Linked DNA regions of Homo sapiens: all the other regions are linked to region 3. The links are contacts of gene promoters, found by promoter capture Hi-C in blood cells and fetal thymus (Javierre and others, 2016). All regions are on one chromosome and are shown on one strand. The core of a region is centred on a gene start or on the middle of the fragment in contact, and the rest is flanking DNA. Distances in the headings are between cores, read along the strand shown. Region 1 overlaps HOOK1 (hook microtubule tethering protein 1). Region 2 has its middle 9.0 kb from the start of MIR101-1. Region 3 holds the start of ATG4C (autophagy related 4C cysteine peptidase).

The links. The method cuts DNA at HindIII sites, captures the fragments that hold promoters and counts their contacts. A CHiCAGO score of 5 or more calls a contact.
Region 1: a contact is called between a fragment that was not itself captured here and the fragment with the promoter of ATG4C in region 3, in 1 of 17 cell types (non-activated CD4 T cells). The highest score is 7.4, in non-activated CD4 T cells.
Region 2: a contact is called between a fragment that was not itself captured here and the fragment with the promoter of ATG4C in region 3, in 1 of 17 cell types (fetal thymus). The highest score is 6.6, in fetal thymus.

What each region holds. Positions count from the first base shown.
Region 1 is chr1:59,817,542-59,821,716 of GRCh38, reverse strand. All of the region lies in intron 1 of HOOK1 (hook microtubule tethering protein 1), which reads right to left. Among named protein-coding and RNA genes, the nearest start is that of HOOK1, 4.7 kb to the right of the region's middle. The HindIII fragment of the contact is 167 bases long and covers 1,167-1,333 here.
Region 2 is chr1:65,065,242-65,069,702 of GRCh38, reverse strand. It overlaps a transcript of JAK1 not described here. Among named protein-coding and RNA genes, the nearest start is that of MIR101-1, 9.0 kb to the right of the region's middle. RefSeq lists a silencer at 2,229-2,828. The HindIII fragment of the contact is 3,316 bases long and covers 610-3,925 here.
Region 3 is chr1:62,782,806-62,786,893 of GRCh38, reverse strand. ATG4C (autophagy related 4C cysteine peptidase) reads right to left here and starts at 2,762. Exons shown (of 11, transcript NM_032852.4): 1 at 2,621-2,762. RefSeq lists a silencer at 2,282-2,576 and enhancers at 2,552-2,731, 2,852-2,911, 3,012-3,061. The HindIII fragment of the contact is 3,523 bases long and covers 1,597-4,088 here.

The DNA of each region.
Region 1 (4,175 bases), core at 1-2,500, 3.0 Mb after region 3:
CAAACAAATGGAACTATGCTAATATGTCTCTATGGCTGTGTAACTTTATAAAAATAAACTAAACATTTCACAAAATCATGCCTAGGACATTAGAACATATTGATGCCATGCATAAGTAATACATAATTTGGAATAATACAAAACCAGGTATATAACTCTAGTCTTGTGTTTTGTCTATATTTAGCAGAACATCAGAAAAAGAACTTAAAGATAACCCAACATTTGCAACTTAAAATTTCACTCATATCATTTGATAGAAAAACAAAGGCTAGAAATGTCAAGTCTAAACCTACTTACAGTTTATCCATGAGCTCTGAAATAAGACAGGACTTCTGTTTCCTATCTAAAAATTGGCCTTACGTCTTGAAGAATCAAGCCCTATCTATCACGTCAAGTTGTTTCTATCTATTTTGGCTTTAGGTATACTAACTTTTCACATATATCTGTTAAATATTCATGTATATATTGAAGAGAAGCGGAATAATAACCTCTTTTTACAATAAGCAAATATGAGATAGAAAAAAATTTAGAAAGCAAATTACATCAGAGCTAAAATGGATCATAAACTTTCTAGAAAGGTAATCTCAACCTATAAACACCTTAAGTTAAATATACTATGATTCTCTTTTCCCACACATACTCACCCATTTCACTGTTCACTAATAATTTCTTAGTTTACCATTTAACTATCTTAATCCAATAAAATTCTCTCCCGCCATAATTCACTTTTAATGGTTCTGTGCATTTTCAGAGTTGGCAACTGGAGATTCAGACCTCCATTATCTAACACAACACAGATGAATGATACCAGCAAACTAAACCTAGCCAGTTATTTTCAAAACACACAGAGACACTTTACTAAGCTCCTACGCTATGTGAGACACTGTGGCACATGATGGGGCTACAAAGGAAAACCACCAGGTTTCTACCCTTAAAGCTTCAGTCAAAAGTTAAGGAGAGGAGGAAGAGACATAAATCATTTCTAGACAATATGGTAAGTCCCATGATTACAGTATGCACAAAATGTTCTGCAAAAAATGGGTGTCAACTAATCTAATTAGGGTTTGTATTTAGGAAAGGCTTCTCGGAGATGATTTCTGAATGGAAGGTCTAGAGGGAAGAGTAGCATATTTTCTAAGTAAAGAAATAGTCAAGGAAAAAAAGCTTCAGGAAATAGGAATATGATAAAAGTACAGATACATGAGAAGAGATATTATTTTTAGGGAACATGCAGTTCAGTATCACTGGATTTGCAGTGCAAAGAAGGCTGGGGAAGGGGTGACAACCAACAGGGTTAAAGAGACAGGACTCCAAAGGGCCATGACAAGAAGCTTGGACTTATTTTACACTTAATGGCATTATCTACATAATAAGAAACAGTAGAGTAGTTTCTACCTCACAAGATGGTTGGGGAATTAAGTGAAATAGCAAATATACCTATATCAGGGCCTGGCATGTGGCATAAGCTCAACAGCTGTTAGCACATTAGCTATGAGTCAGGGTTTCTCCAAGTATAGGGCCTAGAAACAATATGTATCAGAATCTCTAGACATATTAAATAAGAAAATCTCCAACTGATTCTTAAATATGTCAATTTTGGAGAACCACTGCTCTGGGTGATGAAAAATCACTGAAAAGTAATAAGGAAGAGTAACATTCTTTGGCATATTTTGGAGAGCAGATAGTGACACAGAGTAGCTTTATGCCTGAGTCAGGCAGACCAGTTAGAAGGTTCCTGCAATGGCTCTGATGACAAAAATAGAGTAGAGGGAATCAGCATAATATTGACTGAGAGGAGATGATGAATTAATGGAATATTTAAAATACAAAATAAGAAGGATTTTGCAACTGGGTGGATGTACAGGGAAGAGAAACTCCAAGAATTAGGGCATCTTTAAAAGGAAAATAAACTGTGACTTCCACTTTTCAGCCCTTCCAACTTAAACATTAACTTTTAATGTGTAACTTAGAAGTTACATCATTAACTTTTTACAAAATTGACACAATTCATGATTTTAAAAGGACAATTTCAGAGGCACAGAATACTAGGCAAAATAAGAGGTACACATGCTAAGGGACTACCTCCATGACCACTATGTTCAGATTAAAATCAATTTCCCCTCCTTCCTGCCATGGACATTGGAGTGTCTCTGAGAAGTTCTTAAAATAGCTGCAAAATAAATTAGAAAACAGAATGTAATTTGATTTCACTCAATTGAAAGGCTTACAACCAAGAAGAGTGAATTAATTAAAAAGCTTAGTGGGGAGGCTGGGTGCAGTGGCTCATGCCTGTAATTCCAGCACTTTGGGAGGCCGAGGCAGGTGGATCACTTGAGGTGAGGAGTTCGAGACCAGCCTGGCCAACATGGTGAAACCCTGTCTCTACTAAAAATACAAAAATTAGCCGGGTGTGGTGGCACATGCCTGTAATCCCAGCTACTAGGGAGGGTGAGACAGGAGAATCCCTTGAACCCGGGAGGTGGAGGTTGCAGTGAGCCGAGATCATGCCACTGCACTATAGCCTAGGCAACAGAGTGAGACTTCGCCTCAAAAAAAAAAAAAAAAAAAAAAAAAAAAATGCTTATTGGGGCGAGTGAGGTCAAAGCAGACAAAAGAAAATGTATTCTTTCTAACTAAAGTCTTTTTAGTGAGTGACCCAAAAAAGACAGACAGGGTTTCCACAGGTGTCTACCGCTAAACACAGTGTTCTGGCAAATAATTACCTTACTCTCTTCTATATTTCTAAATAAAACAAATAATCAGAAATGTGGAAATGCTGTTCCTAAACTACTTTAATATAAATGTCACAGAAATCAAGGAAAATGGGGTTTTCACAACCAACAGCCAACAAAAACTCAATCTTGGATCAACTTTATTTTCATATTCTCCTCCTCCAGCTGCTCATTACAAAAAAAACAACCATTGCTTTAAGTTTTAAGATCTTCATAAAAATAATTGAGGTTTTAATAATTTTCTAAATTTAGGCATATATTAATTATTACTCTTTCCTTCATCTGCCTGTCAAAGAATGCAAGAACCAAGAAAAACATTTAAATATATTTGGTCCAACCTTCTAATTTTATTGGTGAAAGTAAGGTCCAAAGATATTAAACAAATTTCCAATGTCACAGAACCAAGTAGCAGAATTAAATTTATCTTTATACAAACATTTCTTCAAACTCTCATACATGTCCTCCAACATGTAAATGATACCCACATTTACCCTTTTGCCCTGAATTTTCTGCTAAGTAGCAGTACAACATTTCTAAGAGCCAATTATTTTAAGACGGTGAGTTCCAAATCATAAAATGCAATTTTTAAAAAATTGCCACAAGAGGCATTCCTTCACATAACTAACTTTTCTTGATGACTTCTCTAATTCTGTTGATGTTGGCTCCATTCTCCTCCTAGCGCTGAAAGAAGAGTTATTCCCAACTGTCTTATCTCCATGATTTGGCCCCATCATAACTTTTTTTAATCTTCTATCTTTGAGCCAGGGTTATCATGACAAATGTGTGTGTTCCACTATCTCCCTTTAATCTATAGCCAAAGGAGACCATTTGTTTTACTACTAGTGTCTCTTCCCTGTGTCTGGAGAACTAATTTCCACTGATTTCTACTTGCTGAAATCCAACAATCCTCTATGACCCAGTTAAAAATTCACTCCCAAGTATTTATAAAAAACTAAGCTATATCACACTTAATGGTGAAACACTAGTCTCTGAGGTGAGAACCAAGGCAATGATATTTACTATCACCACTTTGATTTGGTGTCTTATTGGCAATAGTTGTCAGTGTTCTCCTAGGGACAGAGCAGAAAATAGGTCATGTAAGAGCTCTGATCCCAAAAGCCAACTGGATTACTTTAGAAAGTACTGTGTTATAGATAAGACAGAAAGAGGTTAACAGGTTACAGTGGGATAAGGGTGGGAGACAAACTTTAGAAATGGTTGTAACAAAGAGTCCCTGAAAAGCAACATCTGACCCAAGACCTGAATGACGGAAGCAGCCAACCACTGGAAGAACTAGAAAGAGAATATTCTAGGTAGAGGGAAAAAAATCCCTGATGCATTAAAACAGCTTAGCTTCTTCAACAAATAGAAAGTCAATGCAGCATGATAGGCTTGAAGAACTGTTGCTTGAGGTGAGTTTGGAGAAAGTTGGGTAGGTGAGGT
Region 2 (4,461 bases), core at 1,018-3,517, 2.3 Mb before region 3:
GTTTTTTGTTTGTTTTGTTGTCGTTGTTGTTTTTGGTAAACGTGTACTTTTTGCCTGATGCTAACATCTTTTCAACAGTCCTCTTTTGCCTGCTCAACCGCCAGTCTCCCAGTTCAGTGATCCCAGGAAGAATCAGAGTCTTGTCTGCCCATGATGATTTGCTTCCAGTCTGCACCAGGTTAAATCACACCTTAAACTTTATCAAACTTTTGGAGTCTAAAAGCAAAAGCAACTCACAAAGTGCAAAGGTTGGCATAACTAATTTATTCATATGAATCAGAAAGAATTTAAAGAAGAGGAACCAAATATGGTAAAACGAGGGGCGGGGCGGGGCGAGGGGGGAAGCAGTTGATTTAAAAAATTGAGAAAAGCAAAACATGTTTTGCCTGGCTTTGTAACTAAAGAAGACTGCCAAAAATGGTCTGCAGAGGTGTAAGAATCAAAAAGCATCTCCAGTGTTCTACCTTCACCAGAAACATGCAAGGAATTTCCTAGGATGGAATTATGGAAAAGATCCTCTTCAGGCCTTCATTTGCTCATTCATTGCTAGTCATGGTGCTAAATATGGGAGATATAAAATGAGTATGGCATGGCCCTGGCCTCAAAGCTTACCCTAGTGGGAGATACAGCAACTGTGCCGTACGCTGATCTGTGAAAGGCACCAGAAAATAAATGTAAAAACCATACAGTGGATGCACAAAGGGGAGAGTGGTCAACTCTGTGAGTCTAATAAAAATAATTCACAATAAGCACATAGCGATGTTCCGTGAGTCCCGTCCCCACCCCATCCTCTTATAGCCAACCCCTAAGAGAAACGACAGGTGAGCAGGGCGCAATCCAAGCTGGGCTCTAATTAAATGTGTGCCCTAGAGCAACTCCTAGCACTACTCAGAGTCTCCGTTTCTCTCCCTGTAAAAGCCAGGAACCCTGCTCAACTATGAAGTCCATTTCTGCTCTGAATTAAGAAATAGAGGAAAAAAAAAAAAACCAGAAAGGAAACTCACGAAAAACAAAAGTGAAAGTGCCTGAAGGGAACCCAGTAGTAAACAAGAGTACAAAATTCTATATCTCACCGGAAAACAGTGGCAGAGTTCCCAAATATTTTTTTTTCAGCAACTGTGAACTTCGGAAAGAATGAAATGTCTATCACTCCCTTTGAATGTGAATAAGATCAGTGTAACACGAATCCACCTTGCTCTATGCAACTGTCTTCTGAAACAATCCTCTGACCCTGAACACCACTTATTTAAATAAGCGGTTCTTAAATCAATCAATCCGTAGTGAATGGTCCATCCCCACAAAACCAATCCCCATTGAAGACCACACCAAGTTGTGCCCCACTTTGGGAAAAGGGGGAAAGCGGGGGTAGAGAAAGAGGGGAAGGATTGGAACCAACATTAGATTGTGCCTGGTGTTGCCACGCGGTTGTCATAAACAACGGCGTCGAAGCAAACTGTTTTAAAACTTAGAAAATACGGCGGCCTTTAAACTCTATTATGTCCCTGCTCATGGCAATAGTGGGACTTCTCTGAACGTAGCCCACAACGGTACAGCCGCCCGGGAGGGAAAGCGAGCTCTGGGGCGGACAGGCGAGTGAAGGCAGCCAGAGGAGGGGAGCAGGCTGACAGCTCCCCCAGCTTCCGCGGCGCGTGGGGGACCAGGACGGGCGACCGCCACAATCAGAGGGTGCGAGCTGGACCCACCGGGGCCACTGGTCTCCAGGGTGGGAGGATGGCTGCTGCCTGTCCGCTGCCGGAGCCTCCTTTCTCCCAGCAGAGGAGGGAGAGCGCGCGCACGTACACACACTCTCATACACACACGCACGCACACACATCCTTCCCTTAGAGTTGTGTCTCGTCTCCCTTTTGTTTTTCTCCCTTCCCGGTCATGAGACCCGGAAGTTTTTTTTTTTTTTTTTTTTAATCCCGTCTCTCTCCCTTTTCCAACCCCCCCGCCATCTATCACATGGCAGAGATAGAATAAAAACAGAAAAATGGCGACGGTCACGTTGTGGCGAGCCTTGCTGCGTCATTAGATAATCCTCATGCAAATAGCGGGAAGAACAAAGGAAGGGGAGCCCGGGACCCCCGGGGGCGCAGGTGGGTGTGGGGGCGGCGGCCGGGCGCGGGGGCGGCGGGGCGCGCGGGGCCGAGCGCCCGCGGGAGGCGGGCTGCGTGGGGCGTGCGGCCGCGCGAGGCTCGGGGCGCAGAGTGTGGACGTCCGAGTGCGCGCCCGTGCGCCGCCGTGGAGCGCTGGCTGCTGCGCTCCCGGCCCCGTCTCGCGGCGCGTCGGAGCCGGCCTGGGGACGCGGGAAGCCGTGGGGCGCACAGAGCGGCTCCGGCGAGGCTGGCCGCGGCGCACACGCACACGCAGCCGTGGGGCTCGGCCCGCTAGGCATCCGCACTGGGGTCTGGGGGCGGGCCAGGCGGCGCCGGGGGCCGAGGGCGCGCCACTGCCCAGCGCCTAGCGCCTGCCTTCAGCCTCCTCCGGGGACCGCACGCAGTTCGCCACCTCGGGGTAGGCGGCGGAGCGCGGGGGCGGCGGCGCGGGGCGGGCCGGGCCGGGCCTCCGCACTCCGGGACCGACTGCGAGGGTGTTGCCGGACTGGGTTTGTTGTTGTTAGCGCGTGCGTGTGTTTTTCCCGAGGGGTAGCGGGGCGACCTCGCCCATGGGCATTTCCGCGGTTTTGCGCGGCCCTCGCTGGGGTGTCAGTGGCAACGCGGGGAGCCCCGGGCGCCTGGCTCGGCCCCCGGAGGGGAGCGGCGCGGAGGGGCGGGGTGTGTGTGTAAATGTTGCGCACTCGCTTTTCCCCCGCCCCCGCCCGCGTCCAGGGTGCTGGCGTGGGTCCCTTGCCGTCCGGCGGCGACTGTAAATAGAGCCTGGATGTTGTTTACATGAAGGATCCGGCGGGAGGAGTCTAAGAGGAGGAGGCGGCGGTGCCGGAGGAGGAGGAGGAGGGAGGGAGAAGAGAGGAAGACCGGAGTCCCCGCGGCGGCGGCGGTCCGGAGAGAGGGCGAGCCCCGCGCGGCGCCGGGGACCGGGCGCTACCACGAGGCCGGGACGCTGGAGTCTGGGGTAGGAGGGAGAACGGGCACGGGGCGGGAAGAGGGGTCCGTCAGTGGCATTTTTAGCTTGCACCCTGCCACGCAGATTCTCCCCGGCCGGAGGGGAGGAGGGTGGAGGGAGGGCGGGGAAGCCTCGGTTTCTCTGCACGTTCGGGAACGCCTTCTCCCCCTTCATTCTCCCATTCCCAGTGTTTTCCCGCTTCTCCCCGGGCTCACCTGTTTATTTCCATCAGCTAGAGCTCGTGGTTTTTTAATATAGGCATGAGAGTCTGTTTCTTTTATTAGAAACATTATTGGGGAGAGGGGTGCTTTGCTGTAATTTGTGCTGGTCCAGGTCGGTTTTCAGGAAGGGGGAGGGGACTTGGCGGAGACGCCGGCTCCTGGCCGCAGCTGACCCCAGGGCTTCTCCCTGCCTTCCTGTGCGAGGAATTCTTTCCCTCACTCTGCTACCCGCACGCCAGCTGCCACCTTCCTGGAGAAAGACCACACCTGTGCTTATCCCTGCTTTGAAGGAGAGGTGAGCTGAGAAACCAGGGAATCCCCTGCTCTCCAGGGTTCTTAGTTAGTCCTCTCCGCAATCCCAGCATTGGCCAAAAATTGCTGCTTTCACCTGCTGATTTAATTTGGCATGTCTGTCCCCAGCCCCCCTTTCCCCCGGCAAGTTGTGATCTGCAGATGTTTTGGGATTTTCTCTTCCCTCTGGACCTGTCCCCCACCAACCAGCAAATAGCTCCTGGGCCTAGGTTGAGGGAGAGAGAGAAGTGACCCCCTTTGGCCAGTGCGCTGTTTTTTATTCCCCTCTGGGTCTTCTAATGGAATCTGCTGTCCCTCCGTAGCCCCCTTTATTTTCCCCTTAAGCTTAACCCAGAGCCAGGCCTAAGCAGCCTGTCTCTGGCTTTCTTTCCCCAGGCCCCACCCTGGCCCCTTTTGCTTTTCCAGCGCCAAAAAAAACGCCTCCCAAGCAGAAGACACACCCAGCCCAAGTCTAACCATTCCAAAAGGGAGGAAAACACAGAGGAAGAGCAGGGACCCAAGGGTCTCCTGTCCTGAATATTCCAACAGCGTTTCCCTCTAAAAGCCTCCTAGCTTTATAATCCCTTTATTCTGCTTACCAGTCGACCCTCCCCTCCTCTTTGCCCCTTGTTCTGTGATAGATATTTGGGGAGAGGGGTGGAGAAAGAGGTTGTCACCCTCTGTTCCTTACAGTGAGGCATTTTTCTTTTTCTCAGTCTTTTCATTTATTAGATGTTTAGCATGTAAAATATGTAAATCTGTTTGCAGGCTTATTTGAACTTGTTTTCTTGCTGGCTAAGGAATAGCTGATATTCTATAAAGGGAAGGAGGGGGGAAAAGATCAAAAGTAACACTCTGAGTTTTCCCCATTTGAGCATCCCCA
Region 3 (4,088 bases), core at 1,513-4,012:
ATCTTCTAACTGGCCTCTCCCCATCCCCACTCTTATCCCCTCTGTAATCAGTTCTTCCTCTGTGTAACATCAAGTCCTTTTTTAATAGCATTTACCACAGTTGTAACTTTAAATTTCTTTGACTATTTGATTTATGTCTGCCTCCTCTGTTAGTAAATTCTATGAGGGTAAACACCGTATTTACTCACTACTATACCACTGTGGCCTAGAAGAGTGTCTAGTTAATAAATAAATGCTAAATGATTGAATGCATGTCAAATATTACAATTTTACTTATATATAGTCCAAAAAATAAAAATAAAGTGCTTTATAAGGCTCACCAATTATTCTATATCACAGATTTTCACTTGTTTTTTTTTTTTTTGAGACAGGGTCCTAATTTCTACCTACCAATCCCTAACCACTATTTAAATTCCACATTAGATCTCATCTTCATGAAACATTCCCTAGTTATCTCTCTTCTCACCTTTAACATTCTAAAACACTCCCGTAAAATCTAATACATATTGACTATATTTTCTGCTTCTTGAAGGGAAAGTTTACATCTCATACATTCTGCTAGAGTATAAGCTCCCTAAGAGCAGGGACTTTTCTTGTTCACTCTATATCCCCAGCACCTTGAAGAGTGTCTGGTATGAATAGCTGCTCAGTAAGCATATGTTGATTTAACGCTCTTTATATATTTCAGGATAGAGCACAGATCCTTGCAGCTGTTGTACAGTGGGAAGAGTCGAAAAGAACTGAATTAATTTCCTTAAATTCTTCAAGCTTCAGTTTTTTCATCTGTTAAATGTAAATAATACTCAATAGCTTAGTTGGAATAACTGCGCTAATGCTTTAAAAGTATCTATGCAGAGCTGAGGACAAGAGGATACTCTTACAAACAAATGTTTTGGTGATTTTGTGACAATAGTTAAATAGTAAGTAGTCACTAAATTCCTACTAAATGAATAAAATCTCAGGAAAAATATTAAAAGATTGAGTAATGGCTACCGTATCATTTTTTTCAATAAAAAATTATATGAGTAAATTTATTCTGAAATATATTTCGCCCCAAATCTTAAGCATGGCTGAAACCATTTCAGCATTTTGTGCATTAATTAGGAATAATCCCAATTTAACATTGTACCAGTATTAATATTTATATTTTACTGACATGTATAGATCATACTTGATAGCTTAAAAAAGAATGATAATCTTAGTATAAGAACCTCTTTAGTGCAATAATTGGAATAGAAAACGAGCTGCAAACTCATTTGAGTTACGTGGTTCCCCAGAAAGCCAGAAAATTTCTGCCTTTTTATAAAACATTAGTGAACAGAATACGATGCTGTTCACCAGAACCATCAAAACATCTAGAAATACTTCATAACCAATCACCATAAATACATTTTTCCAAATACTTGAATCCTATTTTAAAGAAAAAGAGCATTAATTAAATGGCTTTTAATGACTTTTTGCTAAATTATACAATTCTTTAGATGGGCCACTTTTTGACATGTGGTTCTAAAAATTTTATAGCGAATGAACTGGTAATTCAATATAGCCTCAGATTATTGGACTAAATAGAAACTCTTCCTGTTCAAAGAAGAAGCTTTATCAATTTGAAACTCAGAAAATACATAGACTTTACCTTTCAAAGCCTTTCCACTCCCTCTGGGTATTCTCAATGGCTCATAATCTAATTACAAGTCACAAGCAAGCAAGAAGATCATTCCCTTGTCTCTTTCTGCCATCAACTGACACAAAATCATTGCCAAAAACCCACCGGGGACATATGGTCCGAGCAGGAAAACATAAGAAAACTCCTAAGTAATTCGGATATAAAAAGATGTAAGACGAGGTATTCTTCTGTAACTATAGGGTAGCAGTGAGCCCCATGTGGGTAAATAACCAATACAAAACGAAAAGGTAAGCCAAAGAAATCACAAGAAATATAAACTCAATAAGCAGTGATGCTGAGTTGACCGCTGAAGGTTCTCATATATGAATATAGTCATCATATGTAAGAATTTATTCTACACCTCCAACCTCAAAAGCCCTTAGATGTGGGTAGGGTTGGGAGAGTTCACGGTGAGCGGGAACCAAATGAAGTGAATGAACGTTAATATTTAGATGGAAAGGCATTAATATATGCAAGGCAGTGTGTTATGGCTTGAAGCAGTAACAAACACCAAAAAGGGAGAAAGAGGCTAGGAATGAGAACAGAGAGACAGTGGGGATCCAGTTATTATTATTATTTCCCTTTTTTTATTTTTTAAACGAGGAAAAACAGGGCCGACAGAGCACTGGCATGAGGAGGGGTCAAATGGATGCGATAGATCAGGGGAAAGAGTCTTGCCTGCAACATCTAAGAAAACCACAAGGAAAGGAGGAACAGCTGCCCACAGTTAGGCTTACGGTTTATCTCTGCAACCCAGGACAAAGCGAGGAAGAGTTAGAAGACAAATGACACTAGAAAGGAGAGACAAGGAAGGCGCCAAAACCCTCAGAGAACCCAGATGGTTGGCCACAGGGTCTTCACTGAAGGCGGACCCCCGCAAGAAACCCAGTCATTCGGGGACCAGAGACGCTAAGTCCCAAACTTCTTGACTCCTTTAGCCTCAAGCCGATCCCTCACCGAAAGAGAAGGACTGGAGAACTGTAAAAATGTGCAGGAGCCACCAACCCGGCAAATGCTCCAGCTCTAGCAGCAGCCGCCACAAAACCAGCCCGCACACACGCAGACGTTCCGACCTCAGCGCCGCAGCTACAGGTACTTTGAGCACCCCGGCCACCGTAGTAAGAGGAACCGCCTCCGCGTCAAATCCAACAGATCAGCCACTTCCGGGATACGAAAGCCTTGCGATTGGCAGTAGCGATAGCAGCGGCGTAAAGGCCTCTGCTATGCTTACTTTATCCATCCCTTTTTCCCACCTGTTCGCCACCCCAAGCCGCTAATCCACCAATGCAGCAAGCGCAGAACCAAGAGAAAGTATCCGTCTGTGAGCATTGTCTCTCTGATAGACAAACCACATTACGGCTGCCATAAATTCCTCTCGAGCACTTGGACTTCAACTACCAGCAGGCCATGCAGCATCACGCCCTTGCCTCTGGCGTAGGAACTGCAAGATCCAGCATGCATTGCGGCCCTCCTTCCTCGCACTCAGGACCAAGATAGAGCCAACCCAAGCCTCACTTTGATTTAAAAAAAAAAAAAAAAAAAAAGCCAGGATGCCTTCTTTTCCTGTTGTGAAGGAACTCTAAGCCAAGCCATTATTAGGACTGTAGGTTATTTATAAAACATCAAGGGATATGTGCACTCATTTTCCATATTCAGATTATTTTCAAGCATTAAAACACAGGACAGTCGGGCGCGGTGGTTCGCGTCTGTAATCCCAGCACTTTGGGAGGCCGAGGCGGGTGGATCGCTTGAGGTTGGGAGTTCGAGACCAACCTGGCCAACATGGTGAAAGCCCGTCTCTGTTAAAAAATTAAAAAATTAGCCGGGCGTGGCGGCGGGCGCCTGTAATTCCAGCTACTCGGGAGCCTGAGGCAGGAGAATTGCTTGAACCCGGGAGGCAAAGGTTGCAGTGAGCAGAGATCGCGCCACTGCACTCCAGCCTGGGCGACAGAGCGAGGCTTTGTGGGGAAAAAAAAAAAAAAAAGAAGGAAAAGAAAAAGAAAGAAAGAAAAAAGGACGGTCCGAAGATGCTTTTTATAACGTGGAAATTTTTGGCCAGGCGCGGCGGCTGACGCCTGTAATCCCAGCATTTTGGGAGGCCGAGGCGGGCGGATCACTTGAGCCCAGGAGTTCCAGACCAGCCTGGCCAACATGGTGAAATCCCGTCTCTACTAAAAATATAAAAAATTAGCCGGGTGCGGTGGCGCGCGCCTGTAGTCCCAACTACTCAGGAGGCTGAGGCGGGAGAATCGCTTGAACTCGGGAGGCGGAGTTTTCAGTGAGCCAAGATTGTGCCTCTGCACTCCAGCCTGGGCGACAGAGCAAGACCCTGTCTCAAAAAAGTAAAAATAAATAAATAAATAAATAAATAAGTGGAAATTTTTATCTTCACTCCTAAATGATGTCAAGAGAAATACTGTTACTG